4 separate regions of the Homo sapiens genome follow, and all the other regions are linked to region 1. The links are contacts of gene promoters, found by promoter capture Hi-C in blood cells and fetal thymus (Javierre and others, 2016). All regions are on one chromosome and are shown on one strand. Each heading gives the region's core, a stretch centred on a gene start or on the middle of the fragment in contact. The rest is flanking DNA. Distances are from core to core; before and after follow the strand shown. Region 1 holds the start of UCP1 (uncoupling protein 1). Region 2 overlaps RNF150 (ring finger protein 150). Region 3 overlaps RNF150 (ring finger protein 150). Region 4 has its middle 95 kb from the start of TBC1D9.

Region 1 (6,909 bases), core at 2,996-5,495:
TACAAATGCCTTCACTTTTAGCTCACATTTGTAATGCACTGCACTACAACGTAGTGTATCTTGATGTACTCATCCTATCCTCCAATCTCCAACTTTCAAATCCCTCTCTTCACTTCCCAATCAAGCTGGAAAAGAGGCTTTTTTTTTAAGAACTAAAAGAAATTTATTTACAAAACATATTGTTTGTCTTTACTTCTCAGAGCCCATTTCTTCCTCAGTCCCCTACAATATAGCTTATACCACGCTACTCTGCTGAAGATGTTTTTGCTAGAAAATCAGTGAGCTTCTATTTGTTATGTACAATGATCACTTTTCAGTCCTTTCCACACTCTCTGCTGTTTGACCCTATTGGTAGTCCCTGCTGTGACTTCCTGGAATCTGGCTCAGATTTTCTCCTAAAAGGAGCCCACTAAATAAACTGAATCATGTGCCTACTGGCCATTACCTGTTGACATGGCCTAAACCAAATTTCTTGTCTTCCCCCTAAGACAGCTTCTATACATCCTCTCTCAATAAAGGGTATCTTTAAACAGAAACTTGGAAGTCATCTCATATTTCTACCTGTCCCTTATGCCTTACTTCTATTTGTTCACCAAGTCAATTCAATTATACTTTCTCAATCTTTCTGATTGACATCTCTTTTTCCCTATTGCCAGTGTTTTAGGGCATACCCTGATCATTTCTTGCTTTCTAACTTACCTCTTTCTTACTCCTTTTACATATATACTCTATCTGCTGCCAAAGTGATCTTTTGAAAATGTAAATTGTTTATGCCACTCCCTTGCTTAATATTTTTACAATGACTTCCCACCACTGTAAGGATAAAATCCAAACTCCTTAGCACCGCCTGCAAGGCCTTCTGTCATCTGGCTCCCTCCTGTCTCTGTGGCTTCACCCCTCCTTCCTCACCAACATGTCCTCCCTGTGCTATGTTCACTCGACTCCTCACTGAGTCTTTGCACATGACCTTCACTCTACTTGGAAGCTCCTTTCTCACCCCTTTGCCTGGAGTACTCCTGCTGGCCCTTCCAGAATTGATCCAGACGTTAATTCTTCAGGAAAATCTCACGGACCATACCTCCATGGCTAGCTTAAGTAGTTCTGTTTAATATAGCCACCATCTTGTAATTACAGTTAGTCATGTGCTGCATACATGATGGTGGTCCCGTAAGATTAGAACAGAGCTGAAAAATTCCTATCACCTAGTGACATCCCAGCCCCATAAGACTGTAGTGTAATGCATTACCTTTTCTATTTTTAGGTACACAAACACTTAACTTTATGTAACAATTGCCTGTAGTATTCAATACCAACATGCTGCACAGGTTTGTAGCCTAGGAGCAATAGATTATACCATATAGCCTAGGTGTGGCTATGCCATCTAGGTTTGTGTAAGTGCTCTCTGTGATGTTCATTCAACAACCAATTTGCCTCCTAACTCATTTCTGAGAATGTATCCCCATCGTTAAGTGAAGTAGGACTGTATTGTAATACAGCATGTATCATGGAATATAGTCATCTATTCACTTCTCCCCACACAACCCATACTCTCAACTGTAAGCTCTGTCTAGAGACACATCTGCCATCTAAACATCTAACATAGTTACTGGCACATGGCAGTTCAATAAAGCCTACTAAATAAACTGAATCTATATAACATAGAACACTGCCAACATATATCCTATTAATTTGGTGCCCAAAGTCCACAACAATTGGTAGAACAGTCAATCTGTGAAGAAAACCACCTGAACGGGCAGCTTTACCTCCTTTGTGTTTCCTCTCTTGCTACATCTATAAATAAAAAAATGCAGTTTTGATCTAGTAACATCCAGACTTTATCTTCACTTTGAAAGTACTTGTGTGGATAAGTATAACTTATATATTTGTATAGACAACATTTATAAATTATCCCATAAAATTATAGTATTGAAGGTTACTCACAGCAGAAATGATGAAATCTACAAGGTGGATTTCACTTAATGTATTCATTGTGCCATCAGCACATCTTCTCTCTGGCTTGTCTACTCCACATGAAAGTGCCTCTGATGTTGATTAGCTGTGTGATTTTGTGCATGTTACTTAACTACCCTGATATTCGGCTAACACTTTTTACTCACAGCAGTGTTGTGCGGTTTGAATGATGGGCAGAATCATATGAGAAGTGCAGAAGGCAGTAGAGAACAGGGTTAGGAGCCTGGAGTCCGAGGCCAGACTGCCTGGGTTTGAACCCTGGCTCTGCCCCCTCCCAGCTGTGTGACCTTGGGCAAGTGATGAATCTGCTCTGTGTTCAGTTTTCCCATCTGCCAAGGGATAATGGTACTAATACCCTTCCAGTTATAATGTATCTGAAGCACTTAGAACAATGTCTGGTTCATAGTTAAGCCCTCAAATAAATGCTACCTAAAGTGACAGGAATTCTTAGAGTGCACTGGCACTCAGGAAATATGTTTCCTTTTCTTTTTCCCCTAAACAAACTCCCTGCAGCATTCGTCCACTTTTTCTGCTCTGGTCTTTCCTGGACCTGATGAGGAACCTCTTAAGAGGAAATATGTCTTTTCCTGTCCTTTCAACTCTCTTCACAAAGTCTGGCTTTCTTTGCTTCAAACAGAAGGCTTTGAACTTTGTTGCATACACAAATGATGAGGGAAGCTTGTGGAAAGACACTCTGGTCTCTAGCCTGAGGATTCAGACTCAGAGGACCATGGTAGTCCTCGTTTGGATTTCTGACAAGCTCCATAGATGTTTCTGATATACTTCCCTCTTTGGAGAACTTTAAGTTAAACATTTTTCTGTAGCCCACCCATATTCTCCAGATGGAGATCCAAACTGGGCACAAAACTTCCATGACTGGGTGACCTTTACAAGTATATATCTGCATCTAAAAAATCGATTTTGCATACTTTTTTCTATGAACAATGAGCTAATGTTTGGGGAAGGGAGAGTTCAAATATGAATGTTTTCTCGCCAATTTGTTATGAAAACCACTCCTCTGTGTGTTACACTTTTTGGAACAGAGCGGAGCCCAAGGCTTTTCTGCCCCTCCCAGGAACGCTCACGGCTTACTTTCTTTCCCTGCGGTGAGGAACTCCTGGACCGTGTCGTAGAGGCCGATCCTGAGAGAGGCGGAGCTGATTTGCCGCTGAAGCCCCGCAGGCAGCCCGCTGTAGAGTTTCATCCGCCCTTCTGTTTTTACCACAGCGGTGATTGTTCCCAGGACACCTTTATACCTAATAACACTGGACGTCGGGCATTCACCTTGGACCTGGAAATAAGAAAGGTGCAGAACAGAAGGGAGCGAAATTGAGTTCACTCTTAAGCCAAGATTTCCCCCTGTGTTCCTATTTTCCGTTTCTTTTCTCAGCAACATTCCTCTTCCATCCACCTCCCTCTACCGTGTGTGTGTGTGTGTGTGTGTGTGTGTGTGTGTGTGTGTGTGTGTGTTCGCTCACGCGCAGATGGAGGGAGGCTGGCTACAATGCACATTTTGAATATCCCCCTCCCCAGGAACTCTCCAGAACCCCTAGGGCAGTAGGATAGGACAGAACCCCCGAAGAATCAAAGAAAGGAAAAAGCACCTGACTAGTAAACTCAGGAGAGGCCAATATTCTCAGCTCTTAAAATACTAAGTGCACCCTAAATTTTGGGAGAATTTGGTAGTAGTCATGGTCAACCCATTCTCTGTGGCCCTGGTGGTTCTTCAGCTAATCCCAGAAAAAGTTCCAGTTTCCCATCCTAAAGCACCAGCCCTGGGACAAGGCCAGACTGCTTTGGAAGGTCACCTACCCTACCTAGAAACAGTGGTTACACCAAAGCAGAGAATAAATGGAATGCACGCAACAGCGTCCCCTCTGTCCTGAGACCCCTTGTCTTACCCCTCTGCCTAGCTACCTGGAGCCGGACTTTGGCCGTGTCCAGCGGGAAGGTGATCACGTCCGCCAAGCACGCCGCTATTCCAGCTGAGAAGAGCTGGACCCCCAGGGTCGGGTGTACGTCCGAGGCTGTCAGGCCCCCCATCTTCACTCAGAGACTGGAGATGCAGAGGAAAAGGGCTCCAGCCCCGAAGGTGGAGGAAGTTCCTTTCCCTTGCTCTTCACGCCTGTCCGCCGGGCAGCAAACCCGATTTCTGTTTTTTGAACCGACCGCCGGGCAGCGGCGGTGCAGAGGCGGCGGCTGCAGACGGAGCGCGGTGTTGGGGGCCGAGTCCCCGCGTCCCCTCCTACCCACCCTCGCGCCAGCAGGACCCTCTGCGTTCCGGTCTTCCGCTGGGACTTATATAGCTGGGCCGCTCCCGGGCTGGGCCGCGCGAGGTCTCAGAAGACCCGGGCGTGGGACCTGCCGGGGGCGTGTCCGGGAGCACCGGGTCCCTCCCATTCCCATTCTCGCTCGGTGCCTCGGGAGCCCTGCTTCGCTCCCCGAAAGCCCTGGGCCGGCCGCTGGTTGTCTGCGCCCCGCACACCGCACGTCGGAGGGAGGGCGCACCGCGGCGGTCAGCACCCGCGCCCCCGCACGTGCCTCACCTTCTGTCACCCTTTGGCTGCACACCTTCGGCTGGGGCTTTCGGAAACCAGCACGATATCAGAGCCTTGGTGAAAGGTTCTGCCTAGCTGGAGCTCTCCCAGAAGGAAGAGCGGGGCACTCTTCCATTCCTCCAACTCCCCAGACATCTTGCAGGCACCTTGCGGCCTTCTCTGCTTCCCTTTCCTCTCCTTTAAACTTCTCATCCTCCTTCCTCCGGATTCCTTCTCTTCCCACTACCAAATTCAGACTTGGAAGAATCCCACACAGGAACCAAGAGCACTCTGAACTTGTCAAAAAGAGCGTTTCGTTTCATCACTTTTTGAGAGAAGATGTCAAACGAGACAATAGACACACTAGAAAGCAAATAGTACATTGCTAAAGCACCGTACAAAATGAGATACCACCTGTTCCTTCTAATTAGATTTCTTAGAGGGTGCAGTGGAAAGGACAGGGCAGGTTGCTTGGCTCCAGGTGCAGCTCTCCAGCTTACCAACTCTGTGAACCTGGGAAAGTCATCTGTACTCCAGCTTTTATTTTCAACAGTGTAAAATGTGGTTCCAGAGCTAGCCCAGGTCTGAAATCTCCCTGCTAACTTACCTATAATGATGTAATATGTGTTGGTTGTGTGGCCTTTCCTAGTTCGATCTTTGTGCAAATTTTATTTTCAATGTTTATTCTTGTGAAAACTTAAGAAAACAAAAAACTTTTAAAAAAAACAGTGGGAAATAATAGGAAACTGGAGAAAGAGGGAAATGGACAAGGTCAGGTCCCAGCTTTCAGAACCTCTCAGTTAAGCCAAAGATGGATTTGATATTACCAGAATCCACGTCCAGCTATTTAGGGCCTCTGGTACTCAACCCTGACTTAAGCCCCCCAAAAGAGTCAGTGGAAGTCAGAGTCATCTCCTCCAGGAGCAGGAGAAATAAGACATGAATAAAGAATAATCTCCAAACCCTCTATAAGTAAAGGTTGTGTACTGTGCAAGAAGCCAGTCCTAAGGCACTTCCAAGGGAGGTCAGGCTTGCAGAGCTTCCCTGAAAAAGGCAATGTTGACCTGACGGGTAGCCTCTGAAAAAAAATAGAAAGGAGAAGGAGCCAGCGAGGTTTCTCCTCTGCAAACACTTGTTGAAATAAAGATCAACTGAGGCAAATAAGTGGCATGCATACAGGCAAAGATGTTGGGGAAAGCAAGTCGCGTATATAGAATGCATTCTGTTGGCCTGACTGACTGGGAAATTGGGTGATGGGGAAGAAAGAGAGAGGTAGGGCAAGAAGTTGGTGAGGGATGAGGCTGTAGAAGCCAAATGAGAAGCAGAGCCTGCAAATCCATTATGAGTGTAGCTTCATGTTATCACCTGTGTAGTGCTTTACAGACTATGAAGTGCTCTCACATAAATGTCAGATTTAATTTGATAGACAATACAGCTTTATGAATGATTAGATGTGGAGTCAAAGATTACTCTATGTTTAAGAACATGGGTTGCAAGCTCAGTGACAGTACCAATGATTGTCATGAGGCAGTTGGTAAGGGGGGTGATTTTAGGGGTAAGAAGATTAAACCAATTTTTAAAGTCTTAGAATTATTTGGAGAGAATACTGTTGATATCCAGATAGAGAGCTTAGGAAGCTGCATTTAACATGCTAAAAGAGGAAGAAATAGAGGAGGTATTTGGTAGTCATGATATGGATGCAATGAAAGGGGCATGCTTTTCACGGGAAAATGGGGCTAGTCAAATAGGACTAGGAAAAGAATTCAAGGGCCAAACCATAGGGGGACCCAGACCCAGAGTTATAGTCTGGAAAGAATGGCTTTGTCAAAGGTAGAGTGAGAACAAGAAACAGTAACATATCCAGTGATAGAACTGGTATTTAAGAATATGATTAAAGAAAGATTGGGTCTGACCAGTGTCAAGTTTAGAAAAAATGTCAGGAGGACAAAAACAAAGAAAAACCTACCGGATTTGACTCTAACATTGTTGGTGATCTTAGGGAGTACAACTATGATGGAGTTGTTATGTTGTGAGGCTGATGGCTAAGCAGTGGTTAAGAATGTTGGTATAGTATGACTAAAGTGTACAAGAGGAGACCTTATTCCTTGTTGACTCTAGTGAACCTCTGCTATCAACAGGTTAATTCCCAGTCCTCACCCCAAAGCTACCCATGAATCTTTCTCAGTGGTTCTGTCTGTAGTAGTTTTAAAACATAATTGCAAATCCATCACATTCCTCCCATCAAAAGATGAGGGTACATATGCCTTCCCCTTGCATCTGGCAGGCTTATGAATGTTTTGACCAATAGAATAATACAGAACTGATGCCATGTGGCTTCTGAGACCAGATTATAAAAGTCCTTGTATCTTCTGCTTTACTCACTGCAACATTTGCTCTTGGA
Region 2 (6,909 bases), core at 2,252-4,751, 320 kb after region 1:
TCAATCACCTTACTAGTGATAGGTTGGTTGAAATTTCCTATTTCTTCATGATTCAGTCATAACAGATTGCATTTGTCTAGGAATTTCTACATTTATACATTTCTTCTAGGTTATTCACAGTAGTCTCATAATATTTTTTATTTCTTTGGCATTAGTTGTAATGTCTCCTCTTTAATGTCTAACTATTTATTCAAGTCTTCTCTTTATTTTAATTAGTCTAGCTAAGGATCTGTCAATTTGGTTGATCCTTTCAAAACACAAATTCTAAGTTTGGTTGCTTTATTCCATTGTCTTTCTATTCTCTATTTCATTTATATCTGCTCTAATCTTTATTATTCCCTTGAAATTCTGCTAATTTTGAATTTGGTTTGTTTTCTTTTCTCTAGTTCCTTGAGGTATAAAGTTTGGTTCTTTGAGATCTTTCTTTTTTAATGTAGTCATTTATTGATATAAACTTTCCTTTGTACTTTTTTTTTTTTTTAAGACAAGGTCTAGCTGTATGGCACAGGCTGGAATGCAGTGGCATGATCTTGGCTCACTGCAGCCTCCACCTCCTGGGCTCAAGCCATCCTCACACTTCAGCCTCTCAAGTAGCTGGGACTAGAGGCATACATTATCACATCTGGATAATTTTTGTATTTTTTTGTAGAAATGAGGTTTCACCATTTTGCCCAGGCTGGTCTCAAACTTGTGAGCTCAAGGGATCCATCTGCCTCAGCCTCCCAATCTGCTGGGATTACAAGCATGAGCCACCACACCTGGCCCCTTTGTACTTCTTTTGTTGCCTCCCATAAGTCTTGGTACATTACCTTTTTGTTTTCATTTGTCTCAAGACGTTTTCCAGTTTATCTTGTGATTTCTTCTTTGACCCACTGGTTATACAAGAGAGTGTTGGTTGGGCATGGGGGCTCATGCCTGTAAACTCAGTCCTTTGGGAGGCCAAGGTGGGAGGATTGCTTGAACCCAGGAGTTTGAGACCAGGCTGGGCAACATAATGAGACTATGTCTCTATGAAAAACCAAACAAAGCAAAAGAGCCAAGTGTAGTGACATGTACCTGCAGTCCCAGCTACTCAGGAGGTTGAGGTGGGAGGATATCATGAGCCCAGGAGTTTCAGGCTGCAGTGAGCTATGATCATGTCACTGCATTCTAGGCTGGGTGACAAAGCAAGACTCCATCTCTTTAAAAAAAGAGGATGTTGTTTAATTTCTACATTTTGATGAGCTTTCCAGTTTGCTATTGATTTCTGGTTTCATTTCACTGTGGTTGGAAAAGATATTTCGTATGATTTCAATCTTCTTAATTTTCTTTATTTTTAATTTTTTTATTTTTATTTTTGAGATGGAGTCTTGCTCTGTCGCCCAGGCTGGAGTGCAGTGGTGCAATCTCGGCTCACTGCAAGCTCCACCTCCCAGGTTCACGCCATTCTTCTGCCTCAGCCTCCTGAGTAGCTGGGACTACAGGCACCCGCCACTACGCCCGGCTAATTTTTTGTATTTTTAGTAGAGACGGGGTTTCACCATGTTAGCCAGGATGGTCTCGATCTGCTGACCTCGTGATCCACCCGCCTCGGCCTCCCAGAGTGCTGGGATTACAGGTGTGAGCCACTCAATCTTCTTAAATTTCTTAAGACTTGTTTTGTGGCCTAACATGTGATCTATCCTTGAGAATGTTTCATGTGCATTTGAGAAAAATGTGTATTCTGCTACTGTTGGGTGGAGTGTCCTGTATATGTCTGTTTGATCCAACTGATCTATAGTGTTGCTCTATTCTACTTATGCCTATTGTTCTCAGTCTGGTTTTCTATCTATTTTTGAAAATGGGGTATTGAAATCTCTTACTCTTATTGTGTTACTATTTTCCCTTTAAATTCTGTACATGTTTACTTCATATATTTGGGTGCTCTGTTAGGTAAATATATATTAATAATTGTTATATCTTTCTGAATAATTAACCTTTTAATCATTATATAATGACATTCTTTGTCTCTTGTGACAGTTGTTTACTTAGTCTAATTTTTTCTGATATGAGCACCTCTGTTCTCTCTGGTTACCATTTACATGGAACATCTTTTTTCATCTTTTCCCTTTAGCTCAGGTATGTCCTTAAATCTAAAGTGACTGCCTTGTAGACGGCATATAGTTACCTTTTGTTTTTCATTTATTTAGTCTTTTGATCTGAGAGTTTATTCACAGTTAAAGTAATTACTGATAGGGAAGTACTTATTATTTTCATTTTATCATTTTCTATGTTGTAGTTATCTCTCTTTTTCCCTCTCTTGCTGCCTTCTTGTTAGTTTTGTTCATTTTTTTTTGTAGTGCTATATACTTTGATTTGTTTCTCATTTATCTTTTGTGTACTTTTTTGAGTATTTTCTTTGTGGTTACTATAGAGATGACATAAAACATGTCAGAGTTATAATAATCTATTTTAAGCAGATAATGCCACATATAAAAACTCTACTCTTATATATTCCCTTCTACACTAAGTTACTGATGTTATAAATTATATCTTTAGTATATTTTACATCCATTAAAGTAGTTTTTTTCACCTTTGTCCTTTAAATTCTATACCAGAATTAAAAGTGATTTATGTACCACCATTACAGTATTTATGCACCACCCTATCACAGTATTGTGTATTTGTCTACATATTTACTTTTGCCACTGAGCTTCATGGTGCCGTAAGCTTTTGTGTTACTATCTAATGTTCTTTTGTTTCAACTTAAAGAACTCACTTTAGCATTTCTTGTAAGGCAGGTCTAGTGATGACAAACTCTCTCAGCTTTTGTTAATCTGGGCAAGTCTTTATTTCCCCTTCAGTTTTGAGGACAGTTTTTCAGTATATAGTATTTTTGGTTGACATTTTTTTCCCTTTTTCTCAGTACTTTAAATATATCATCTCACTCTTTTCTAGCCTATAAGGTTTCTGCTAAGAAATCTGCTGATAATCATATGTAAGCTCCCTTGTGTGTGATAAGCTAATTTTTTCTTGCTGCTTTCAAGATTCTATCTCTGTCTTTGACTTTGGACAATTTGATTGTAATGTGTCTCAGTGTAGACCTCTTTAGGTTTACCATATTTAGAGCTCACTGAACTTCTTGAATTTAGATGTTCATATCTTTCCTTAGATTTGGGAAGCTTTCAGCCATTATGCCTTTGAAGAAGCTCTTTGACCCTTTCTCTCTCCCTTTTTCTTTTAGAACTCTCATGATGCACATATTTGTCCACCTGATGGTACAGCATAAGTCCCTTAGGCTTTCTTTATTGTACTTCACTTTTTTTTTTTGCTCTTATGACTTGATAATTTCAAGTGACTTTTCCTCAAGTTCACTGATTCTTCCTTCTGTTTAATCAAGTCTGCTGTTAATCTCCCTCAGTAAAATTTTCAATTCAGTTACTGTAGTCTTCAACTCTTGAATTTCTGTTTGTTTCTTCTTCATAGTTTTTCTTTGTTGATATTCTCATTTTATTCATACATCATTTTCCTAATTATATCCAGCTGTCTATCTGTGCTCTCCTTTAATTCATTGGGCATCTTTAAGATGATTCTTTTGAAACGATTTATCTGATAATTCATATATCTCCATTTTTTAGGGGTAATTTCTGGATATTTAATTTGTTCGTTTGATTGGGCCATATTTTCCTGTTTCTTTGTACTCCTTTTCATGCTTTGTTGGGACTTCAGTATTTGAATTATCTGCCACTTCTCCCAGTCTTTGCAGTCTGGTTTCATACAGGTACAGGTAGTTCGCCAACCAGCCCAGCTAGAGATTCTGGAGATCTCTCAGGCCTTTTCTGAGGATGTGTGCTTTCTGGGTTTTTGTATGTAATCTAATTGCAGAGGTTTGCCAGTTTTACTCAGAAGCTTCCCCAGTGTCTGCATCACTGAAGCCTTTCTGGTGCTTTGTAGCAAGCTGTGGTACTGGAGCTCCCCCTTGTGTTTATGTTTGAGACACGTGCTCAACCAAGTCCTCTTCATCACTTTTGTTTTTTTTGGCCCCCTGACCTGCTGCCTTGTTCCTGTCTGTGCTTAGATTTCGGGAAGACAGAAGCCAGTCCCTTAGGTAACACCCCCTCCAAAAGTCAGAATATTAGACATCCCACTTTACAATCATTTTTCTCTTTCTCTGCTTGAGAAGAACTCTGAGTTGGGAGTTTTCTCCAATGGCACCATGCTATACTAGAGGGGAGGGGCTCTGGTGAATGAGTGGGTTCCATGAATTTTCCTCCTGGGCTTCCAAGCACTTGGCTTTGTCCTTGCCTGGAGTGCAGGAACTTCTTAACTTGTTTCTGTTATTTCTTCCAAAGACAATTGGTCTATACACATTTCTTAAGTCCGTTGGTATCTCCATGGAGGAAGGAGGATCTGGGGCTTTCTATTATGCCATCTTCCTCCTGTCACTTCCAAACAGTTTTTTTCAACATGGCTGTACTGTTTTTCCATCTCTACAAGCAGTGTACAAGAGTTTTAGTTTCTCTACATTTTTTCCAACATCAGTCTTTTTTTTTTTTTTTTTGAGACAGAGGCTTGCTCTGTCGCCCAGGCTGGAGTGCAGTGGTGTGACCTCAGCTCACTGCAACCTCTGCCTCCCAGGTTCAAGCAATTCTCCTGCCTCAGCCTCCCAAGTGGCTGGGATTACAGGTGCGTGCCATCACACCCAGCTAATTTATATATATATTATATATAATATATTATAAAAGAGTACATATATTTTATATATATGTACATATATCTTTTTTTTTTTTTTTTTTGAGACGGAGTTTTGCTCTTGTTGCCCAGGCTGGAGTGCAGTGGTGCGATCTCGGCTCACTGCAACCACTGCCTCCCGGGTTCAAGCGATTTTCCTGCCTCAGTCTCTCGAGTAGCTGGGATTACAGGCATGCACCACTATGCCCGGCTAGTTTTGTATTTTTAGTAGAGACGGGGTTTCTCCATGTTGGTCAGGCTGGTCTTGAACTCCTGACCTCAGGTGATCTGCCCACCTCGGCCTCCCAGGTTCAAGCAATTCTCCTGCCTCAGCCTCCCACATAGCTGGGATTACAGGTGCATACCATCATGCCCAGCCAATTTTTATACTTTTAGTAGAGATGGGATTTTTGCCATGTTGGCCAGGCTGGTCTCAAACTCCTGACCTCAAGGGATCCGCCTGCCTCAGCCTTCCAAAGTGCTGGGATTACAGGCGTAAGCCACAGCACCTAGCTTGAGCTTCTTTTTATATATGTTCTAAGAAGTATGTACATCTCTTTGGGAGGCCGAGATGGGTGGATCACGAGGTCAGGAGATCGAGACCATCCTGGCTAACATAGTGAAACCCTGTCTCTACTGAAAATACAAAAAAATTAGCCGGGCGTGGTGGCAGGCGCCTGTAGTCCCAGCTACTCGGGAGGCTGAGGCAGGAGAATGGTGTGAACCCAGGAGGTGGAGCTTGCAGTGAGCCGGGATAGCGCCACTGCGCTCCAGCCTGGGCAACAGAGGGCGACTCCATCACAAAAAAAAAAAAAAAAAAAAAGAAAAGTATGTACATCTATTTTGGAAAGTGAATGTTCAAGTCAATGTTAGCTTTTACTTATTTGCTTTTACTCCACATTTTTCCAGAATAGAGGAGTGTGCATACAAGTGTGTATGTGGTTGTGTTCAGCTGAGTGGAGTGGGTAGTAGTGAAAAACAGGAAATAAATAAGAAAAGCTGAACTAGGCATCCCACAATGCTCCACTAGTGACATAAGGCAGGTCACCCACATGCTTTGCCCATTTTTAAATTGGGTTGTTTGTCTTCTTACTGAGTTGTATGTTCTGAATGCAAATTCTTTATATGTTCTGAATGCAAATTCTTTGTTAGACATAGGTATTGCAAATATTTTCTCTCAGCTTGAGGCCTGACTTTTCATTTTCTTAAAGATGTCCTTAAAGGAACAAAAGTTTTATTTATTTATTTTTAGACAGTCTCACTCTGTTGACCATACTGGAGTGCAGCAACACAATCTTGGCTTATTGCAGCCTCGACACCCTGGACTCCAGCAATCCCCCTCTACCTCAGCCTCCCTGGTAGCTGGGACTACAGGTGCGTACCACCACAGCTAGCTAATTTTAAAAGTTTTAAATTTTGATAAAGGCCAACATATCAACTTTGTCAATGGTTCGCTTTTTAAGTCCTATCTAAAAAATATTTGCTTATCCTAAAGTTGCTAGCATTTACTCCTATGTTTTCTTCTAGAACTTTTATACTTTTAGCTTTTACATAGAGATCTATGACTCATTTCAAGCTAATGTATGGTGCAAAGTAGGAATTGTTCATTTTCCCCCAAAATTTTTGTAATTAAGTTCTTGAATTAAATTTCCTTATTCTGAAATCCCTAGAGTGATTTCCATTTTCCTGACTGGTGTAACTCAATACAGGCAATGGTATTAGAAAGATAGGTGGTATTCAGATTGCAGAAGGATTTGAATGCCAGGCTAAATTACCACAGCTCTATTTAACTTACATGTATGATATGATGTTGATACTTGACAAATACTTGCTTAGATAAAATCTTGAGAAATAAACAATCTCAGCTTCCTCATCAGTAAAGTACTGATAATAATACATTTTTTGTAGCCTGTAATGAGATTTGATAAATACACATGCATATAAACATAACGCACAATGCTACGCAGTATGTGCACTATACGCTATGCCAGATAATATGCAGCTAATATTGGATTTAATATATTTACTGAGAATATGTTTTATTCTTTCCCCACTAAGCTTTCTGGGCTCCTTCTTTGCCCATTAATGTGCTGGTGACAAACTATACCCTTCCTTTCCCTGGCTATCATCCCACTGTTTCTGTAATATTCTATTTCTTCAGTGTTGTTGGATGTAGGTCGACGCATCAACATTTCATAAAAAGTTCATTCACCATGTGAC
Region 3 (6,909 bases), core at 1,906-4,405, 300 kb after region 1:
TCACTACAGCTGTGGGACTGGGGGACACTGGGAAAGGACTTTCACCAACCATGAACAAGAAGAAGGGGTTGAGGTAAAGTTGGGTGATTTCAGTCTGGAGTTCTCTTTGGCTCCTAAGTGCCACATATCAGTCCGAGGGTTTGCCATAGAAGTGAGGGGTATAATTTTGTTTCAGCACCAAATCAGCATGGTTTGTGTGAGTTTTAAGTAACAACTGGTCAGAGGAGTAACAACAAATGGTCATGGACATCAATGATATGGTTAGAAAGTTCAAGCAGAAATTTTAAAAAGGGTGCCTGAATCTTTATTCACTACAAAATAAATGGACCTCTGGGCCTCTCATTAGGCGACTTGGGTGGTGTCCAGTTCTCCCTGGAGGTAATTAAGCTTTTAACCTTCTTTTCTTTTGTAAGGGTCGGGGGATCTTGTGAGAATACTGGAGGAACTCTAGACCTGCATTGTCCAATTGGCAGCCACTAGCCACATGTGACTATCCAAATTGAGAGGTGCTGTGAGTGTAAAAGACACAATGGATTTAGAAGACTTAGTACACAAAAGCATGTAAAACATGTCATTAATTTACATTAGTGACATGTTGAAACAATATTAGGTTAAAGTACATGATTAAAATTATCTTTACCTGTTTCTTTTTACACTTTAAAATGTGGCTAGTAGAAAATTTAAAATTATGTCTGTGACTTGCATTACGTTTCTGTTGGACAGTGCTAGTCTAGACTCTTGCTATAGAAAAATGCACATCTGCAAATACACATACAGTCTGCATTTGCTTCTAGAGGGTACACACACCCTCTGACACTCATCTGTAGACTACCAGGTCTCCAGGTCAGTCTCTTCTTTGGGGGAGGTAAAGAAGGCTATAAGGAAGGGCTGTTCCCCTTTCTTCTGAAAGAGAAACTTTCTGGTTAAGCTTTTTTTTTTTCTTTTTTTTTTTTTTTTTAAACTATCAAAGCTACAGGAAAATCCTCCAGAAACAAACTTTGGTAAGTAGTGAATGGCAAAGGCTCAGGGGGTTTGCAGCAGGACCTCCTTGGGGTCAGATCTGCCAGCCTCGGGTTGGCCTTTCAGACCCCTCATCGTCTATGAGGCATCCTGTAAGTGCAGCTGTGGCCAGGGCTTGCATATGCAATCAATTCCTGATTCACCTAGTTCTTGGCAGGAAGAGAAAATACTCGTTAATCAGAGGACTAAACAATCCAAAGCGCATTCTCTCTCTGGGAATGGAATATAATTTATATTTCTGTTGCTATTGAATTATCCTTCTAATTCCACTGGACTAAACTTAATACCAGTAATACTAAAATTTGTTTTGGGCAAAGCCGACTGAAGGAGGAGTCAGTGGCGCAAGCCTATGCTGACTGTGAAAAATAAACACCTCTGAGATCAAGAATCCCACAGTGAGAGCTAGGATTTGAAGGTATCCAGAGATTGCAAACTCTGTGACTAACAGCAATTTTTAAACAAGGCAAAACAAACCAACTCCTACTTGGACTTAAAACTTCAATCATTTAGATTTTCATTCTCAGCACCATAGTTGTGCCAAGTCTCAAAGGCTGTTATTACATGATACATGTCAAGTAACTCTACCTCCCCAAGCTACGAAGCCTGATTGCCACAAGTCATAGCTATCTGCAAAAATGGATCCTGCCTCTGAAAGACTCATCTGTGGTCCCACAGCCAGAGGAGCTTGGGGACTCATGTTATTAAACCCTTCACATTATAGATGAAGAAGCCGAGGCTTAGTAAAGCGTGTGGTTCATCTAGGATTCTCGATTCAGAGCTCTCTTCATTCCTCCCTGCCTCTTTTCCCACACATAGAGAGTGGATTTCATTACAGGAAGCATTGGACTCCTAGGGAGATGCAACCTTTCTGAGGGTAATAATCATCTGCCTTGCCTTACTGTCTACTTACAAACCATCAAATAGGAAATTGGTAAAGGTGGTGAAAAAGGAGCAGCTAGTATTCTCCGTTGACCTGCACACCATGTTTCAGCAGGCGGCAAGGATTTACAGCAGAACCAAACTCTTTTTGAATGAGTATTAGTCTAATGAGGTGGAAAAGTCCCCATCAATACATAAAAACAACTCAGTGAGAAAAGCTTTCTTTCCTGGTTAATCCAAGCCGCAGCCTGGTGTTTGCCAGCTGTGTAGAGATAAGGTGATCCGTCTGATTGTTCAGAGACGCTATCAATGACCTTAGTCATCTCTGTATCTGGATAGTCTGAATATATTACAAAATTGCCCACTGAAAAAATAGCACATTTCTGTCATAGTTACAAAAGATGAATAAAAACAGAAACAGTTTAAAAACACCATTGGGTTTCAGTATTTACTTGATACCTCTTTTCCTTTCCCTCTTACTTTGTCTATTTCAGTCAGGATAAACGATCTAGCAAATTCTCATGCTGCATACTTTTTGGTTCAAATGATACAGCAAATCACACCTCATTCCTCACTTGGTATCTGGACACACTCAGGGAGCCCTGGGAAGCAATCTGCTAGGGATTCACCTAAATCCTCCCACATGGTCTGGTGAGATTCAACAGAAGTGTGTCGAAATTAAGGTAAAAGCTAGGTGCTACTGCAGCCCCCACTATGTTTGCCATTGGACTTAAAAATGATTGGCTTTTCTCTAAAGCCTCCATTTTTTACAGAACCCACTTACAGAGGTAAGAAAAAAACTGTTCTAGCCCAGGGGAAACCAATGCAACTGGCATTTTGTTTTCAATAGGAAGAAAATGTGGTATCTGGTTTTAAAACCAGCCCTACAACCACCAAAGACTGGATGCCTTGGAGGGGACTTCTGAGTTCAGAATTTCAGCCAAAGACTGTAAGACCCAGAAGAATGAAACGGCTTCCCTAGAGCTCCCTTCTCATGTCACGTGGGCCCTTAATCAAGCCCGGCAAGTGGAAGCAAGTGTGATGTGGCTTAAAATAACCAGCAGTGGCCTCAGCAGATTTAGGGCTTAGTGTTGGGGTCTCTGGCAGCTGGGGTTTTTAAAGGCCCACTTAGAAGAACTTAGATTCTTAATGAAAGCTGGCCTTAGTCCATTTCAGGGTGCTGAGGCACTTCTCAAAGCCATGCACACTTCATGCTGGGAGGTCAAGACCACATATCTCAGAGATGGAATACAAACTGATCATAGCAGGAACTGGTGCTTCTAAACAGAAACCTATACAAAAGCTGGAGTGCATCAAAGGAAAAACAAAGGAATAGATGGAAAGTAAACTACAAATAATCTTTAAAAAAATTGCCAAAGAAATCAAACAACATGCCAAAAACAAGAATGATGAGACATGGAAAGAATTGAAATGAAACTAAGAAATCCTAAAGGTGGCCTTTCAGTCTCTGTTTTAGGAGCTTCTGAAGTGTATGTCTACATGGACATAGGAGTGGAAATCAGCTTTCAACTTCCCAGCTGCCAAGGCCACAGACTGCCATACCGATGGAGAAACTGCATCCTGATTGACAAGACTTTGGATATTGCTTTTCGTCAGCATTCTTGAACGGAGCGCCCTGGAGTTGCCAAGGTGATCTGGAGGTGTGTGTGTGCCTGGTCCAAGTCTTGGAGCACTCTTCCCTTCCTTTCCCTTGGGTCCTACTATCTCTTTGCTTCTGGATTTGTCGTTTCAAGATTTCACTTCTTCACAGTCCTGGTCAGTGGAAAGTTCTACATCAGACAGTCCAACCTCCATTGCCATGATCAAGGAAATGTCAGAATCACTGCTTACAGCTGGCTCCTGCTCACCTGGGAGGAGAAAGCAAAGTTCACAGTGAACACCGAGCTATGTCTTTGCATGCTGCTTATTTCAGTACAATTGCTTGTAATAACATTTCTTTAAAGGCCAAGAGAAGGTATTAGAAAAATTGGGTATTCTGTAAAAACTCTAGTTAAAGCCTCATCTCACATGGGCCAAAAAGTTAAATGCAAACAAAAGAAACTAGAATAATAAAATATATCATCTAAGGATATGTCTTAGTAGGAAAATATATATCTACCGTAAGTTGGGCAAGAAATTCTATTTAGAAAAGTAATTGGGTAATTTACAGAAGAAAAGATTGTTACATATGCGTAACATTTAAAATGTTACACACATGTAAAATAAAATCAAAAGGCATATCAAACTCAGGAATTTGCAAAAAATTTCACAAAGGTTTCTATTCTTAACATATAGAAAGCTTTTAAATCAATAAGAAAAACAGTTCAATAGAAAAATGGACAAAGGTTACCATTACACAATTCACGGAAGAGTGTAATATAAATGACCAATAAATATAAGGTAAAAATAAGATATCCTTTTTTGTCTATGTAATCTTCACTCTTTAAAAAAGACAAGATAATATTACAGTTAAGGGTACACTGAGGTAGGTAGGTACATGATACATTGCATATAGAACTGTAAAATTTTCACTCAGTAATTTCATTTCCAGGATGTATTATAGAGAAATAACTGGAGATGCAAAACTATTCAATTAAGCATGATTTACAGTAGCAAAACATTGCAAGTAACTTAAAGTCCAACAATAGAGAACATCTGAATAAACCTATTACTTCTAAAGGACAATGTTGTTATAACCATTAAAATGATGTTTTCAAAGAATTTGTAGTTACATGAGAAGACGTTCACAGTATACTGTTAAGTGAAAACAGAAATATTTAAAGCTTTGTATGCAATGGGGTCAACAGAGAAAGTTAAATGGAAGCAAAGAAACCAAAAATGCTAACGAGAGTCATCTCTAGTGTTGGGATTTATATTCATTTTCTGTTAACATTTTTTTTCAGTTCTCCCAAATACTCTTCAATGAACATACATCACTTACTCATTCAAGACATTATCTACCGTGTCCCTACTGCACACTAAGGATTATGCTAGAGGCTATGGATATAGGGGAGATTAAGACAATCCCTATCCTGAAGGAGCTCATTGTCTGGTGGGCAGGTTGACCATTTACTAGGCAATTACAACACAGTGAGATAAGCACCAGGATGGAAGATGTACCAGGTATTACAGGAGCAGGTAAGAGGGCTATGTAACCATATACTGGGTGCAATGTCTAAACTGAGTCCTAAAGGATAATCTGTATTATAGCCAGATGAATAAGAAGAAATAATCCTTTAAGCAACAGCATGTACAGGTGGCTGGAGGTGATAGGGAGCTGTGGGCAGGCAGATATCAGAGGGTTTTTAATTTGACTGGAATGCAGAGTCAAGCTGGGGAATATGGACAGAGGAGGCCAGAGAGCTGAGCTGCATAAAGGCAGCTTTCAACCCAAAAGGTCTTGTACTTTCTCTTACTTTGCAGAAGAAATATGCAATTAAAAAAACCAACAAAAATGTATAAGTACTAAAGAATAATAATGGTTATAATACTTTTGTTCTGATAATCGCTAATGTAATTTTTTCATGATGTGGCACAGTTAAGAAAAATACCTGAGTTTCATGAAGGACAGTGAATTCCTAAGATGTTTTCAAGGAGACAAATAAGAGAACAAACAAAGAATTATGGCCTGAAAAATCAGTTTTATAGAAATGGGGTATTTCACAGGGAAATATCCAACCTGAAGACTTAGCTCTTATCCGTTTCCTAGATCCACAATTGCAGGAAGTTCATAGCAATGTAACAGATCAATGGTTAAATGAAAACCCTGGAAGCAGCTCTATAAAGATACAAGTCTTTGGTATTTAAAAACAGTGGCATTCAACAAATAGTCAAGAAAACTAGTCATTTAGAAAAAAGTGAAACTGGATCTGTGCCTCACACTTCACTACAAAATACATTCTAAGCTTGCTATATATGATCTCCCATCTTCATTTTGTGCGTGTATGTGTGTGTGTGTGTGTGTGTGTGTGTGCACTTCCTTTTCATTTATCTTCTCCAGAGCCACCTGGTGCCTTTGATCCCTGACCTTCGGGAAATTCTCAAGTGCAAATTACGGTGGTTCTCCCTTTCCCCATGCCTGATTTGTGCTTGTTTTCTCAGCAGGGTCGTGGCGTGCTGTTGTGCAGGGTGTGTACAGCACCACTCCACAGCACAGCTTCACTCTGGAGTCTGAGTGAGCAGTGGCTCCTGAAGTGGGGCAGGACACAACCCACACAGCCAGATGCAGGGGCTTGCTGTGTCTCTAGTCTACTAAGTCATGGACCATTCATCTGTTTTTTGCAGTTGCCTAAATTTTGTTATTGTCTCTTCTTGCATTTTCCCTGTCCATGTCGTGCTCTGTCTTTAAAAAAAAAATCCCTTCACTGTGGTTTTTGTGGAATTTCAGGAGAGACTGGGAGTGGCTTCATATGGCAGGTCCACTCTTTTTACTCAGTGCTCTCCTTAAACATCATTTTTACAATAAGAATTCTCTCTCTCTCTCTCTCTCTCTATATATATATATATGTATACACACACACACACACACTTTATACTTATGAGAACTGGGAATCTATCTGACTTGATACTATATTCTAGCATCTGCTATTAGTAACTGCATGTGTTATTTTGTAAAAATTGTTTTTCTCCTTTAGGGCTAAAGTTTAATTGCCTAGAAAATGAGAATTTGGACTGGATGCATTAGAGTCCTTTCCAGTTGTTGTTTATGCATGTTTATGTGTTGATGCCAATCTAGTACAGGGCCTCCTACATAGTGGGTTCCTGATGAATAATTATTAGATAGAATGACCACTGAGAAACAAAGTTGCCTTTTTTACAATTCTTCAAATTGTTTTTATTTTTGCAATTTTTTTCTTAATAAAAAATGCCTGCTTTTGTATATTTAGTACAAGTATACACGAATGGGAGAATTCCCACTTGGAGGTGTAATGAAAGCTGAAATCTTATTCCTGGAGATAAAAAATGAGAGCTGTACTTTATAGGGAATTAAATTTCCACTTCTTTTCTTGC
Region 4 (6,909 bases), core at 1,625-4,124, 280 kb after region 1:
TTTGAGAAGCTCTTCATCTTCACAATTTCATTGATTTTCTAATTTTTTGTAGTTTCATAGTTTTCTTCCTTCTACTTATTTTGCTTTTCTTTTTCTAGGTTTTTGAGGTGGAAGCTTAGATTATTTTTAATTTTAATTTTTGTGGGGAAGCTTAGATTATTGATTTAAGTTTTTTTCTTTTCTATTATGTGTATGTGGTGCTATGAATTTCTGTTGCTTTGAATTCACTGGGCTTTTTGATTCTGTGAATAGTGTTTTTCATTGGTTCTGAAAATCTTCATTGTCTCTTTAAATACTGTCCCTGCCTTATTCTTTTCCTTCTTACCCTCAGAGATACCCATTAAACACTTGTGGTATTCTTTATGTCCCTTACCTTTTTTTCTGTATCAGCAATCTTTTTGTCACTCAGTCCTTCATTGTGAATAGTTGTCCCCCCACTATTTTTCAGTATATTAATTTTTTTCTTCACCTGTGTCTAATCTGCTAATAAACCAATTCATCTACTGAGTTTTAAATTTTGGTATTTTATTACTTTTTTTCTGAAAGTTCCATTTGATCCTTTTCAAAAACTGTTTTATACTTTAAATTGTAAAAATATATGTCAGTTCATAGTTTCTCCTTCCTTTCAGATGTTATTAATTTTTAAACAAAAAATTTAAATATAGTTAATACAGTTAATTTATATAATTCTAAGACTTGAAGTCTTTGTAGTTCTGTTTCTGTGGTCTGTATTCTGCCAGATATTTCTTATGACATCTACTTTCTTTGTGTATCTGGCTATTTTTGGCTTAGTTTTGGACAAATTTTTTGATGCCTAATATGAAATTGGCTTTTTTTTCCCAGAAAGTATTTGTATTTGATTCTGCAAGGTATCTAGAGGCACTACCAGTTTAAGACAACTTTAAACTAAATTTAAGCCTTGAAATTACCTGGAAAATACAGGATACTCAGGAGAGTTTAACTGAGGTTGTGGTTCTGTGCTAGGACTGGTCTATGGGGGGGGGGGTCTTTACAGATTATTTAAGGGGTGAATCTCTTATTAGGCTTTCGATTTTATGTGGTTTCTGGGAGTTGATTTTTTTCTTCCAGTGCCAGGAGGCCACTAAAATGAAAATCCAGTATTTTTAGGGTGGATAACTACTCTCAGAGGAAAAGAAGCTTCTGTCTTCATTTGTGCTTCTGGGATGCTGACTTCTCTTCATGGTAGGTCTGGTATTTCCTTCCTATCTTGTCACTGCTTTGATTCTTTTAAGATACATTGTATATATTCTATCTATATTTATATTTTATCACATTAAATTGTTTTTTAGCTTAAATGACAGAAATGTGTTGTCTCATAGTTCTGGAGGCTAGAAGTTGGAGGAGATTAAGGTGTCAGCAAGGTTGGTTCCTTCTGAGGGTCCTGAAGGAGAATTTGTTCCGTGCCTCTCCCTAGCTTCTGGTGGTTTACTGGCAATATTTGGTGTTCCCTGGCTTATAGAAACAAGCAAACAAAAAAGAGGTTTTTTTTGCCAAAAGAATTTCTCCAAATAACCTGACTCAGCATTTCAGAAAACAGGATGGGCTTTGGTAAGGCAGTGAATGTCAGAGAACCTACACATTCTGGGCAAAGATACCATCTTTTATTGCTTGTCTTTCTGGCTTTACTCCCTCTGAAGTCAGCAGGATTTTTTTTCCCCATTGGAAGTAGTACATTCTGAAATCCAAGTGTTGTTTTTCCTGAGAATGTGTGTGTGGCATGGTCATTCCTTCAATCATTTATTCAACAAATATATGTTGAAAACCTGTGCTAAGCCAGGTCCTATGCTAGGTACTGGGATACATGGAGAATAAAAACATGGATCCTAATCTCAAGTAATTTGCAATCTAGGTTGGAGAATTGGTATTAATCTGACAACCACATAAGCAAACTATCAATACTAAACATTGTTTAATACATGGAGTAGACCTGTCATTAGAGCTATAATGGCCAAGTACAAGGTGCTATGTAAACGTTTAACTGGGATATTTAATCCAGGGGTGAGAGAAGTTTTCTTCAAGGTAAAGCTCTTGAGCTGAGATCCAAAGAATGAATTGGCATTAAATAGAAGGAGGTGAATAGGATAAGACCAATAAGGCTGTGTGGAAAACCTGTGCAAAGGCCCTGTAGTGGATGGTGCTCTGCATGTTAGAAATAGAAGATGTTAAAGCCAGTGGGGCTGGAACACACAGAGTGAGTGGGAAAGTGGTTTAAGATAATTCTGGAGATGTTGTCAGAGGCTAGGTAGAGCAGGACTTAGAAACCAATCAAGAATTCTCTTCTGTACTTGGGCTTATAGAAATGGGAGATCATTAAAATTTTTTATTGGGTCAATGTGTATGTGTGTGTGTGGGTGTGGGTGTGTGTGTGTGTGTGTGTGTGTGTGTGTAGAGGCTGCTCTTGCTCCTGCATTTAGATAAAGAATTAAATGCATGAGCTATCTTGTGAAATGCTATGTGGAATAGGGCATTAGTGGTCAATCAATGAGTATGTAAGTGATACTTCAAGAATATTTCTTTGGCCAGGTGTGATGGACCACACCTGTAATCCCAGTGCTTTGGCAGGCCAAGGTAGGATTGCTTGAGGCCAGGAGTTCAAGACCAGCCTGAACAACAAAGCAAGACCTTATCTCAATTAAAAAATGTATAAGAAGGACATTTCTCCAATATTACCTTTCAGGAACACATATCCTGAAAGTGGGATATGGCATTTCTAGTTTTATCACTTCAAACCTGCTTTTCATTTGAGCATATATGGTTTCAGCAATATCTAGGCCTAAGAGCATTCTGAAGGTCTCTGTTTTCTGGTATGGTCCAATATACCTTCTTTCTTCTCTGAAACATCCTCTACCCCCAACCACATTAGTTGGTGTTGTCTAATCTTCCTTTCTAACTGGAGAAGATTTGTGAAAGGTTTTTCTTCCTCAAAGTTACCCCTACAAACGCTAATCAAAGTAGAATCCAAAAAACTCTGTTCCCTAACGCCAGGGCATCTTTTCCATTTGATGGTCAACAGAGCCCCCTACTGGGAGAAACAGCTCAACTACATAAATACCAACACAAACAGCAAGCGTTCTGTAACGTTTGGTTCTTTACCCAGCCAATGTTTAATGTAATTACTGTGCCGTAGCTGAGACACCTACTCATTATTTTTGTGATAACTCTGACATATAATTACAAAAGATTAACTTTTCATTTGGCAAATTTTCCAGTTACTCAGTGTTGAAGAGTCATTGTAACAATTAATAAAAATCACAAATGTATAGTCTTAAAATATAATTGATGTCAAGAAATAATTTGGTTCAGTGTTATGTTTCAAGAAGACTAACATTTAAATTCTTCAGGGTACTGAGCTTTCTGTTTTATTCCTAAAATTTCCAACGGAGGACACTCCACAGTGTCATCAGAGATGAATTCTTTGCTTCTAATAATTCAATAGGTTGTTATATTTGATAATAGTATCTCCTTAAAAAAAAAACTCCTGTTAGAATGGTTCTAAATTTACAGAAAACTTACAAAGACAGTACAGAGAGTTCCTGTATTTCCATCACTCAGTTTTTCCTGTTGCTAACACCTGGCATTACCATGGTACATTTGTCATAACTAAGGAATCAACATTGGTACATTACCATTAACTAAACTCCAGAGTTTACTCAGATTTCACTATCATTGTAACTTTTCCCCTAATGTCCTTTTTCTGTTCCAGGATTTCATTGAGGACATCACATTACATTTAATTACCTTGTCTCATTGGGATCCTCTGGTCTCTGACAGTTTCTGTGACTTGCCTTGTTTTTGATGACCTTAGCAGTTTTTGAGGAATACTGGTCATGTATTTTGTAGAATGTTCCTCGGTGTGGAGTTGTCTGGTGTTTTTATCATGGTTCTACCAGGATTGTGTTATGGGTTTTTGGGAGGAAAACCCCAGTAACATTCTCATCACATCATATCAAGGCTACATACTTATGTATGCATCATTGTTGATGTTAATTTTGACAACCTGACTGAGATAGTGTTTATTATATTTCTCTACTGCAAAGGTGCTTTGTCGTTGTTGTTGTGGTTGTTTTTTGGAGTCTTGCTCTGGACTCAGCCTAGAGTGCAGTGGTGTGATCATGGCTCCCTGGATCCTCAAACTCTTGGGCTAAAGCGATCCTCCTGAGTAGCTGGGACTGCAGGTGCGTGCCACCACACCAGCTAATTTATTTTATTATTATTATTATTATTATTATTATTATTATTATTATTATTATTATTTTGTAGAGACAGGGTCTCGCTATGTTGCTTAGGCTGGTCTCAAACTCCTGGCTGCAAGCAATCCTCCTCTCTGGGCTTCCCAAAGTGCAGGTATTACAGGCATGAGCCACCACACCAGACTTGTTTTTTTAAATTTAAATTTAAATATCTTTCATCTTATTTTACAGAGATAAAGACAGAAACCTGTCAGCTTCTTTTTTCAGATGAGGGAGGATAATATATCATGGTGGTGAAGAGCAGCTTTTAGGAGCCAGAAAACGGATTAATGAGCAGTTTTGCCACTTACTGGCTGTGTGATTTGGGCAAGCTACTTTCTAAGCTTCATGATCAGAATTTGTAAAATGGGGTACTAATAGTACTTTCTTCAAAGGGTTATGGTAAGGGCGAAATGATATGATGCATGCAAAGCACTTGACTAGTGCCTGGTGCATAGTAACCATGCAAATGTTCACTATTATTACTAACGTTAAGATGACAGCAGTGATGATAAGCACTATGCATTTATTTTAGTGTCACTGTTATTCTTCAGAGTCAGTAGCAGCAAGTCCTCAGCAGGCAGTTCTTTCCATTAATATGCCAGCCTGGACTTGGTGTTTTGGGCTAAAAAGCTGAGCCTCCAGCATTCATTCAGTTACTAGTTTAACGATGTTCCCTGAGCTCCTTCTAGGTCCCCAGGATACATGGTTAAACCAGCAGACACAGTGTGGCTGCAGCCCTGTGAGTCAGGTGGAGAGTGTCCAGATAGAGGTGAGTGGGAGACAGAGGTCAGGGTTGGTTCCTATGGGACCCTGTGGGTAAAGTATAAGGACAGGCTTGATTATTTCTTCTTTAGTCTCAAGCCATCATTTTATAGGTGAAATTTAGTCTCCTCCAAGTTCATTACCATAAGATCAAAGTAGACCAACCAAATAAACAATTTTACTTGTCCCGCTTTCCTACTTTGATTTTGGTAGTTGTGCTATTGAGCTCTGAAGTGACTGGAATGGTAGTTTTCAAACTTTAGGATGAGGCCAGGCATGGTGGCTCATGCCTACAAACCCAGCACTTTGGGTGGCTGAGGTGGGAGGATTGCTTTAGGCCAGGAGTTTGAGACCAGCCTGTACAGTGAGACCCCGTTTCTTAAAAAAAAAAAAAAAATTACATTAAAAATTAGCTGGACATGGTGGCATGGGTCTATAGTCTCAGGTCTACTTGGGAGGCTAAGGCAGGAGGATCACCTGAGCCCAGGAGTTTGAGGCTGCAGCGATCTATAATCGTGCCACTGTGCTCCAGCATGGGCGAAAGAGTGAGACCCTGTCTCTAAAAACAATAACACCTTCAAGGTGCATTAGAATCACCTGTAGGGTTCCCTAGAACACTTACCCTATATCTTGAACCAATTATTTCTCGTATCATCAATCTTTCTGCAACCCTCTTCCTCACTGTGACTTGTTTCCTTATGTATTTTGAGCTTTTGGTGGTGAGTTTATATTCCTTCAAACTTGGTTTGTGAGAATTCCTTTGAGACCTGGTTTAAACAGTATTCCTCTAGTGAGGATATATGCATTCATTTCTACTAAACATTGAATGTGACTATCAGTTTGCAATAAGTTTAAATTCGTACTTTGGGTTTTTAGGTCGTATAAGTACTTGGATTCTGATACATAGCCCATGAGAAGGCTTGTCTATGGCTAAGGTATCTTGGGGTGTTGGAGGAGACTTTATCTTTTTCCCTTTTTAACTAGAACCAAGGCCAACACTGGTAAACACTTATATCAATTCCTTCTGGTAAGCATATTTTTTTTTCCAGTTTACCCACGAAGGGTGTCAATTCTTTTGGGTGCTGGCTTTGTGCTGGAGTCTCTGATTCTGAGCCTGAGCTTTGTCTCTGAGCTCCTCCTGTAGGAGCAGCACACGCCCTTCTTGTGGCCTGTTTTTGTGTGGCCTTTCAGCTAAGAATGGCTTTTACATTTTTAAACTGTTGCTAAGAAACAACAACAATGAAGTAAGTGACAAATCATATGTGGCCCACAAAGCCCAAAATATTATCTTTAAAATTGTATCTTTTCAGAAAAAAATTGTAGACCCCTAGATCATGAAAGCTAAATAAACATAGGCACCCAGGGCAAACTCTATTTCTGGTGGTCCTGTTCCCCTCTGAATAGACTAGTAGTTTCTTACTGTTTCTGGTGTCCAAGAATTTATCTTACATTCCTACCAGCTTAGCTCTTTGTCTTAAAGGAGGTGTTAATATTTTATCCATTGTTTTTAGGAGTTCTCTACTTGGAAGGTTCCTCTGGACATTGAGCACCTCTTAATATATGAAAAAGAATCCTCGCTCTTTACTTCCTGTCGAGCAAGTCTCAGTGCCATAGCAGGGCTATAAGAAGGGATGGCCTTCTTATGCACTGGCCTGTGAGCCAGTGCTGGGAAGTATGATATAACTGAAATGGGAGACTTCCCTTGCACCCCTTCTCAACACATGCGACAGGAGTGTGGCTCTCTGTTTGGTGAGTTCAAACCCCTTTTATGGGAGGAGGATCATGAAGATGGCAGGTGCAGGAACCAGAGTGACTGCTTTGGGGCTCTGGCCCCATGGCAGTGTCTAGGGGTGGGTGTCTGCGACTCCCAAAGCCCAGGTGGGTGCATGTTACA

The links. The method cuts DNA at HindIII sites, captures the fragments that hold promoters and counts their contacts. A CHiCAGO score of 5 or more calls a contact.
Region 2: a fragment that was not itself captured here is called in contact with the fragment with the promoter of UCP1 in region 1 in 1 of 17 cell types (endothelial precursors); the score reaches 5.1 in endothelial precursors.
Region 3: a contact is called between a fragment that was not itself captured here and the fragment with the promoter of UCP1 in region 1, in 3 of 17 cell types (naive B cells, total B cells and endothelial precursors). The highest score is 5.7, in naive B cells.
Region 4: a fragment that was not itself captured here is called in contact with the fragment with the promoter of UCP1 in region 1 in 1 of 17 cell types (endothelial precursors); the score reaches 5.0 in endothelial precursors.

Annotation. Positions count from the first base shown.
Region 1 is chr4:140,564,716-140,571,624 of GRCh38, forward strand. It overlaps UCP1 (uncoupling protein 1), which reads right to left and starts at 4,246. Exons shown (of 6, transcript NM_021833.5): 1 at 3,889-4,246; 2 at 3,064-3,262. The coding sequence starts at 4,014. The HindIII fragment of the contact is 4,953 bases long and covers 2,648-6,909 here.
Region 2 is chr4:140,880,700-140,887,608 of GRCh38, forward strand. All of the region lies in intron 6 of RNF150 (ring finger protein 150), which reads right to left. Among named protein-coding and RNA genes, the nearest start is that of TBC1D9, 130 kb to the left of the region's middle. RefSeq lists a silencer at 3,796-4,090. The HindIII fragment of the contact is 727 bases long and covers 3,139-3,865 here.
Region 3 is chr4:140,864,613-140,871,521 of GRCh38, forward strand. It overlaps RNF150 (ring finger protein 150), which reads right to left. Exons shown (of 7, transcript NM_020724.2): 7 at 1-3,767. The coding sequence ends at 3,649. Among named protein-coding and RNA genes, the nearest start is that of TBC1D9, 110 kb to the left of the region's middle. The HindIII fragment of the contact is 2,081 bases long and covers 2,116-4,196 here.
Region 4 is chr4:140,848,184-140,855,092 of GRCh38, forward strand. No RefSeq gene overlaps it. Among named protein-coding and RNA genes, the nearest start is that of TBC1D9, 95 kb to the left of the region's middle. The HindIII fragment of the contact is 3,436 bases long and covers 1,157-4,592 here.